Regions from separate parts of the Homo sapiens genome. Here regions 1 and 2 are each linked to region 3. Evidence: promoter capture Hi-C in 16 types of primary human blood cells and fetal thymus (Javierre and others, 2016). All regions are on one chromosome and are shown on one strand. Each heading gives the region's core, a stretch centred on a gene start or on the middle of the fragment in contact. The rest is flanking DNA. Distances are from core to core; before and after follow the strand shown.

Evidence for each region. Contacts are between HindIII fragments. The CHiCAGO score rates a contact against its expected background, and 5 or more counts as called.
Region 1: a contact is called between a fragment that was not itself captured here and the fragment with the promoter of OR4L1 in region 3, in 2 of 17 cell types (M2 macrophages and M1 macrophages). The highest score is 7.8, in M2 macrophages.
Region 2: a contact is called between a fragment that was not itself captured here and the fragment with the promoter of OR4L1 in region 3, in 15 of 17 cell types (total CD4 T cells, naive CD4 T cells, non-activated CD4 T cells and 12 more). The highest score is 11.9, in total CD4 T cells.

Annotation. Positions count from the first base shown.
Region 1 is chr14:20,201,373-20,204,072 of GRCh38, forward strand. No RefSeq gene overlaps it. Among named protein-coding and RNA genes, the nearest start is that of OR11G2, 12 kb to the left of the region's middle. The HindIII fragment of the contact is 5,403 bases long and covers 1-2,700 here.
Region 2 is chr14:19,923,407-19,926,106 of GRCh38, forward strand. The region is part of intron 2 of LOC124903278 (a long non-coding RNA gene); the gene reads right to left. It also overlaps a transcript of OR4K1 not described here. Among named protein-coding and RNA genes, the nearest start is that of OR4K5, 4.2 kb to the left of the region's middle. The HindIII fragment of the contact is 2,156 bases long and covers 243-2,398 here.
Region 3 is chr14:20,058,637-20,061,336 of GRCh38, forward strand. OR4L1 (olfactory receptor family 4 subfamily L member 1) reads left to right here and starts at 1,409. Exons shown (of 1, transcript NM_001004717.1): 1 at 1,409-2,347. The coding sequence starts at 1,409. The coding sequence ends at 2,347. The HindIII fragment of the contact is 2,043 bases long and covers 1-1,964 here.

The DNA.
Region 1 (2,700 bases), core at 78-2,577, 140 kb after region 3:
TTGGTATTTTTAGTAGAGATGGAGATTCACCATGTTGGCCAGGCTGGTCTCGAACTTCTGACCTCAGGTGATCCACCCACCTCGGCCTCCCAAAGTGCTGGGATTACAGGCGTGAGCCACTGCACCCGGCCAACAAAGAACAATTTTCTAGGAGAACTTTCTGATCATTAGATTTGGAAAATCATTTTTTCCCGCAATTCTAGGGTTCCTTAGGAGCCTGTTTATTGATAGAAATGTTGAAGCGAGGTCTTCAGAGCCCCTTAACATAATTTCACTCAGATAGTTTCGTACTTTAGAAAAAACCTGAGATACAGCTTCCTCATCTTAGGGCTTGTGTAAATATACTGTTATAAAACTTTAACGAGTTTTATCACAGTTATATTTAGACATCATCTCCCTTATTTTTCAATTACTGATTTTTATTGCCCTTGTTCGGCACCTGCAATGTACCAAACATTGAGCCAGGAAATAAATTTGAGACAAAGGTATATAAGACACATTTTCTTCCCTCATAGGATTCACAGTCTTGTGATCGAGAAAATTGGAAGGTTTTCTTTTTGTTAAGTAGCAAAAGTTCAGTGAGAGGGGAAGGCCTAATTACAGTGGAAGCTCACGAGAAGCTGCATGTATGTAAGTATGGAACTTGTGTGAAAGAGGTTGTAAGCACAGCACAGGCATTGTCTTTTTGCAAGTGCACCTCAGGTTACAGAATAGAAGTGCTTCTAGAAATTATTTTACACCATCGTATAATCAACCACTGCTAGTGGTTACTACTAAGGTCCCAGAGACAAAGCAAGTATGACCATAAAATATAATATAGGCTGGGCGTGGTGGCTATGCCTATAATCCGAGCACTTTGGGAGGCCGAGGTGGGTGGATCACCTGAGATCAGGAGTTCGAGACTAGCCTGGCCAACATGGTGAAACCCTGTCTCTACTAAAAATACAAAAAAAAAAATAGCCGGGTGTGGTGACGTATGCCTGTAATCCCAGCTACTTGGGAAGCTGAGGCGGGAGAATCCCTTGAACCCGGGAGGTGGAGCTTCCAGTGATCTGAGATCATGCCATTGTGCTCCAGCCTGGGCAACAAGAGTGAAACTTCATCTCAAAAAATAACAATAATAATAGTAATAATATAAATTGAATACAAAAGAGAGATATTATTTAAAATGTTAAGTAAATATAGATTTTAGTAATAGAATGTTGAATTGCTTCGATCTACCATCTTGCTGTGATCAAATAAAAATACTAAATTTAAAAAAAAACTTAAAAACATTGACAATCTGAAGAGAGAATAGAAAATGGCTAAGTCATTTTTTTATGAAAGCCTGAGAGGTGAGCACTAAGGCCATTCATGCTCAGAGAGCACTTGACTGTAGTTCATATCCTTATGCTTCAGGACAATTCCTGGCTGAGGAGATAGAAATAGGAACCTGGTGCTGGTGGGGAGGGGGTGGTCACAAAAAGCTGGTGCTCTAATGGTCTTCATCCTCAGGTAAGGATGAACCAGAGCTAGACCTGATGCCACTCAGAAGGGAATCACTCATCCCTGGAAGTTTGTGGCCATGGTTTAGCTCTCGTTTGAATTTTCTTCAATTTCCCCATTACACTAGCAATCTCTTCATCTTTTTTTTTTTTTTTTTTTTTTAGTTCAAAGGTGTTAGGCTTTCTTTTTGTTGTTGTTGTTTGCAGTTTGGGGGTTTTTTTAGATAGTATCTCACCCTGTCACCCATGCTGGAATACAGTGGTATGATCACAGCTAATTGCAGCCTCAACCTCTTGGGCTCAAGCAATCCTCCCACCTTAGCCTCTCAAGTAGCTGGGACCACAGGCACATGCCACCATGCCTGGCTAATTTTTTTTTTTTTTTTTTTAGAAATTGGGTCTCTCTATGTTGCCCAGGCTGTAGGCTTTCTATTAAAGACTTTGCCATCCTCTTTTTCCTTTGTTTCATTTTATGAATGGACACAACTCAAAATTTTTAAGTAAAATATTTTAATCCTCCAGCCTACATGAAATGTTAAGTCACAAAACAGCCTTAATCATTTTGAAAGATTAAAATCGTACCTATCTTTCTCAAATCACAATGGAATAAAACCGTAAATCAACAGCAAAAAGAAATATCCACAAATATGTGGATATTCAACAACACAATCTAAACCAAGCGATGAGTCAGAGAAGTCACAAGGGAAATTATAAAGTATCTTGAGACAAATAAAAATGAAAACACAACATACCAAAATTTACAAGATGAAAAGAAAGCAGCACTAAGAGAGAAATTTATAGCTATAAAGGCTTACATTATAAAAGAAGAAAAATCTCAACTCAAAAACCTAACTTTATGCCATAAGAAACTAGAAAAAGAAGAACAAACTAAATTCAAAGCTAGCAAATGGTAGGAAATAATGAAGATTACAGCAGGGATAAATGAAGTGAAAATATAAAACTGTAGAGAAAATGAACAAAACCAAAAGTTTGTTATTCAAAAAGATAAACTAAGTGGACAAGACTTTAGCTAGATTAAGAAAAAAAGAAGACTCAACAAAAATTAGAAATTAAATGAGGACATTACAACTGATTTTCTAGAAATTAGTTTTTATAACTTTTCCTATGAACAAAAAGAAGTTATCTCGAATTCCACACAGACGTCTCATCATTGCCTTTCAAAACATTCTTCTTGCCTTTGCTCTGGGGTCCAATT
Region 2 (2,700 bases), core at 71-2,570, 140 kb before region 3:
ATTTTACAACCAGCTCGTCAGATTTCTTAAAATATTATTTCAGGATTTTGTTGTAATTGCATTGGATTCATGTGTTAATTGACATACAAAGATATTTATTATATTCATTGTATATAACATATTTATTAACTTATAGAGAATGACATCTTTTACAAATAAATGTTGAAAAAGAAAAAATATGTCAACAAAAAATTACAATTATTTATGTAAAAAATGTAACTTGCAAAACAACAAATACTCTAAGCTTATGTACAAATTTAAAGATGTGCATTTAGAGAAAATTATAAAATTTAACAAAAGGTAGTAATGAAGAGTGTATTAGTAAATCAAACTTAAATAAGTGAAGATAGACACTATATTAATAAATAGAAAAACAGTATGGTAAAAGATGTCAGTTCTCTCTTAGGGTATTTTTTTAGAGTTACTTTTTATTCTCCTTGTAGTAGCTAATTCCTATTACCAGTTGCTAATTCTTTATATTAAGTATTCTCTGTTCAAATTACTCATGTGGGTTCTGTCTCCTGACTAGACTCTGACAGATACAGATACTTTTAAGTATTTTGAAGGTATCGAAAAATCAGAAGCATCTCATCAAATATGTTAATGAGAGAAATCAGGAGCCAGTTGAATAAAAAAAAGTCAGTAGCTTCATCTATTTATGCACTAAAGTGAAATTCATCTATGACATGCTTGAAAATATAAAAAATGATAGGGCTGGGTGCGGTGGCTCACGCCTGTAATCCTAGCACTTTGGGAGGCCGAAGTGGGCGGATAACCTGAGGTCAGGAATTCAAGACCAGCCTGACCAACATAGAGAAAACCCCTCTCTACTAAAAATACAAAATTAGCCGGGCATGGTGGCACATGCCTATAGTCCCAGCTACTCGGGAGGCTGAGGCAGGAGAATCGCTTGAACTTGGGAGGCGGAGGTTGTGGTGAGCCGAGATCGCGCCATTGCACTCCAGCCTGGGCAACAAGAGCAAAACTCCGTATCAAAAAAAAAAAAAAAAAAAAAAAAAAAGATAGCATTTATAAAGTGAATGCTATCATTTGGTAAACTCAAATTTATTTCTTGACTTTTTAATAATCGCCATCCTGACTGGTGTGAGATGGTATTTCATTGTGGTTTTGATTTGCATTAGATGCTGGTGAAACTGTGGAGAAATAGGAATGCTTTTACACTGTTGGTGAGAGTGTAAATTAGTTCAATCATCGTGGAAGACGGTGTAGCTATTCCTCAAAGATCTAGAGCCAGAAATACCATTTGACCCAGCAAACCCATTACTGGTTATATACCCAAAGGAATATAAATCATTCTATTCTAAAGACACATGCACATGTATGTTTATTGCAGCACTATTTCCACAAATTTTTCAAATTACTCTAGTTCCAATAAAAACAAGGGACATTCCTAATGCTAAGAGCAATGAATTTCTAATTTAATTAATTCTTATTTAAGGGAAACTATTAAAGGCACATAGCATCGTATTTCGGTTAGGATTGTGATATTATGTACTGTAGAATCCCACCTTAAATTTTGTTTAAAATATAAAAAATAGAAAAATAAATAAAAAAATAAAGCAACTATTAATATAACTTGGTAATCAACTTTTTAATACACACATTTCAAAGTAATAGGATAGTATTAAAAATTCTTTTTTTTTCCTCTGGTTTACAGATCCTATAGACTTTCCCTGCACTGCTGACAAATTGACAGAGAAATATCATTAACTGAATAAAATGGCAGAAGAAGTGAACATTTTAGTAAATGTGGAAATAACTCTAGTCAATTGAAAAAGTGTAAAGGAAAGTGTCTTGAGTTGGCTGTCAAAAACTGGGATTTGAACATTGATTATATTACTATTTTTGACATTGAACAGATTACTTAGCTTTTGATCAAGTCACCAATCTCTTCAGTCTTTTAATTTTCAGCTATTTCTCTCAGAATAAAGAAAAGAAAAAAAAAACTACCTTTTTGGTTCACACAGGCTCTGTATTATATGGCTTCTTCTTCACGATAACCCATACAATGAGTTAATTAACATATTTCTCCCTGGCTAAGCCAAACTCTACCTTATTAGGGGATTTGTTTATGGTAGATGAATATATTCCTAAATTGCTTTTGATAATCTGAATATTTTAAAAAGTAAGAAGGGATGCTACCAAACCCAGGGCAGACTTTTATTTGTTTCCTGAGATCTCACAATTTAAGCTACTTCTGCTATGCTTATGAACTAAGTTGATGAGCAGTCCTTCTGACAAGGAACAGTCCTTCAGACAATGCCCAGCACAGAAGCTGTTCGAAAGAGCTGATGTGATGCCTCAGACTTTACAGAGAGACGGTGTCATGGCTCGTGGGGAGAGTACCCCAAAAGGCCAACGGGATAAAGGATGAAGAAGCTTTAGTTCCATTGACTAAATAGAGACAACTGGCAATAGTATGAGTCAAGTTAGTCACAGGACAAGGAGGAAAGTATCAGAGGTACACTTTCCAGGAATGCAGAGTAACAGAGTCCTCCAGGAAAAAACAGAGTAGGTGATTGCAAAGGCACTTCAGGGTGGTCTTTAGAGGAACATAAAGGTGGGGTGTGGGTGGAATGGATCTGTCAGCAGAGCCAAGATCCAGTATTTCACCATAGGTGTTTTACTTTTTAAACAAATCTACATTTCATCATAAATACTTTTCCATGGAGAAGATCC
Region 3 (2,700 bases), core at 159-2,658:
GCAGGAAGTACAAGAGTTCCCGTGTGCCCTCTGATGCCACATACAGTCTCCCCCACCCTTAACAACCTGAACCAGAGTGGTACATTCGTTACCGCTGGTGAGCCTACATTGCACATTATTATCTCCCCAAATTTGTAGTTTACATTAGGATTTACTCTTGATGTTATACATGCTATGGGTTTTGACAAATGTGTTATGTATTTCTAAGTATAGTAGATAAGAATTGTTTCAATACCCTGCAAATTCTCCGTACTTCTCTTATTTCTTCATTTCTCCTTCTTCATTCAAACCCCTGGAAACCACTGAACGTTTAACTGTCTCCAGTTTTTTCTTAGTTTATTTCAAATAAAAGACATGCAACTTTTCCTTTTACTTGAACACTTAGAGGCTATTGCAAAGCTATTAATTGGCCTAAATCCAATATTGTTGTATCTCAAAGAATAGAGAGGCCTGAAGAGAAGGAGAGAGATGAGGGAAGAGTAGGTTGGTGGAGCCGTTAGAAACAACATTTATCAATTGTCTGCCATTCTACATGGGCACGGCTTGTGGTGCCCAAAAATAATGAAAATAGTAACATAAAAGATTACTGGTCACAGATCAAATAACGTGTAATAATAATAATAAAGTTTGAAATAAATATTTTGGGAATTACCAAAATGTGACACAGAGACATAAAGTGAGCACATGCTGTTGGAAAAATGGTGCCAATAGACTTGCTGGATCCAGGGTTGTCACAAACCCTCAGTTTATAAAACATTAAATAACTGCAAAGGACAATAAAGTGAAACACAATAAAAGAGGTATACATGTATATTAAAAAGAAAAATTATTTTAAATAAATTTATATACTTTCATCCATGTATAATTTGCTCCTGATTTGTGTGTGTGTGTGTGTGTGCTTTTTGTTTGTTTGTTTGCTTATTTAGTTTAGAACCATAGAAAAACCTTCATAAATTACTTCAGAGATGTAGAACAATGTAATTCTTCATTTTCTAAATCTTGTATTCCTTATATATTGGGATAACATAATCTCAAGAAGTGCAGGTACAGAATACTATAATAATAAAAGGCAAAATAAAAAGTAATTAATTAGTATCTAATCTTTATATGTGAACAAATGAGTAAGAAAGTCAAGATCCATTGATAAGAGTATGATTTTATGGAATAAACAATAGAAAATGGAACTTCTACTTCTTCAAATGATTTGTAATTACTGCAGAGTAATTGTTTCAAAGTGATATAATATTTAAGCTAATCTCTGTGTTGATATATTTAAAATTATATGATCTCATATCATCAACTATTATCACCAACTAATAGAAATAAGAAAATATTGGTGTTAACTGTGACTTATTTTTTAATTCTCTTTGTATATAAAGAACTTCTGGAACCTTTCTGAGTTGAGTAAATGGATCTTAAAAATGGATCTCTAGTGACCGAGTTTATTTTACTAGGATTTTTTGGACGATGGGAACTTCAAATTTTCTTCTTTGTGACATTTTCCCTGATCTACGGTGCTACTGTGATGGGAAACATTCTCATTATGGTCACAGTGACATGTAGGTCAACCCTTCATTCTCCCTTGTACTTTCTCCTTGGAAATCTCTCTTTTTTGGACATGTGTCTCTCCACTGCCACAACACCCAAGATGATCATAGATTTGCTCACTGACCACAAGACCATCTCTGTGTGGGGCTGCGTGACCCAGATGTTCTTCATGCACTTCTTTGGGGGTGCTGAGATGACTCTTCTGATAATCATGGCCTTTGACAGGTATGTAGCCATATGTAAACCCCTGCACTATAGGACAATCATGAGCCACAAGCTGCTAAAGGGGTTTGCGATACTTTCATGGATAATTGGTTTTTTACACTCCATAAGCCAGATAGTTTTAACAATGAACTTGCCTTTCTGTGGCCACAATGTCATAAACAACATATTTTGTGATCTTCCCCTTGTGATCAAGCTTGCTTGCATTGAAACATACACCCTGGAATTATTTGTCATTGCTGACAGCGGGCTGCTCTCTTTCACCTGTTTCATCCTCTTGCTTGTTTCTTACATTGTCATCCTGGTCAGTGTACCAAAAAAATCATCACATGGGCTCTCCAAGGCGCTGTCCACATTGTCTGCCCACATCATTGTGGTCACTCTGTTCTTTGGACCTTGTATTTTTATCTATGTTTGGCCATTCAGTAGTTTGGCAAGCAATAAAACTCTTGCCGTATTTTATACAGTTATCACACCCTTACTGAATCCGAGTATTTATACCCTGAGAAATAAGAAAATGCAAGAGGCCATAAGAAAATTACGGTTCCAATATGTTAGTTCTGCACAGAATTTCTAGATGTTAGCACTATATAATTAACTTTTAAATGCTACGATAAGATAGTTTGAATAGATTATGTATAATGCATCATTTCACTTTTCTTATGTTATAATAATAACGCATAAAGACAATACTAAATTACTTTAAATTTTACATTTAAGACTTTTATAAACATAAGGATAGAGATCTGCAGCAAAATAGACATAAAAATAGACATAAATAAACATAAAAAGATTATTGAGGATTTTTATCATATACATTCAATATATTCATTAATAAAGAAACAACTGTAAATGAATACATGAAGATATGAATATTATTAGAGGTTATTTTAATATATATTGATAATGTTATTCATAAATTTATACTAT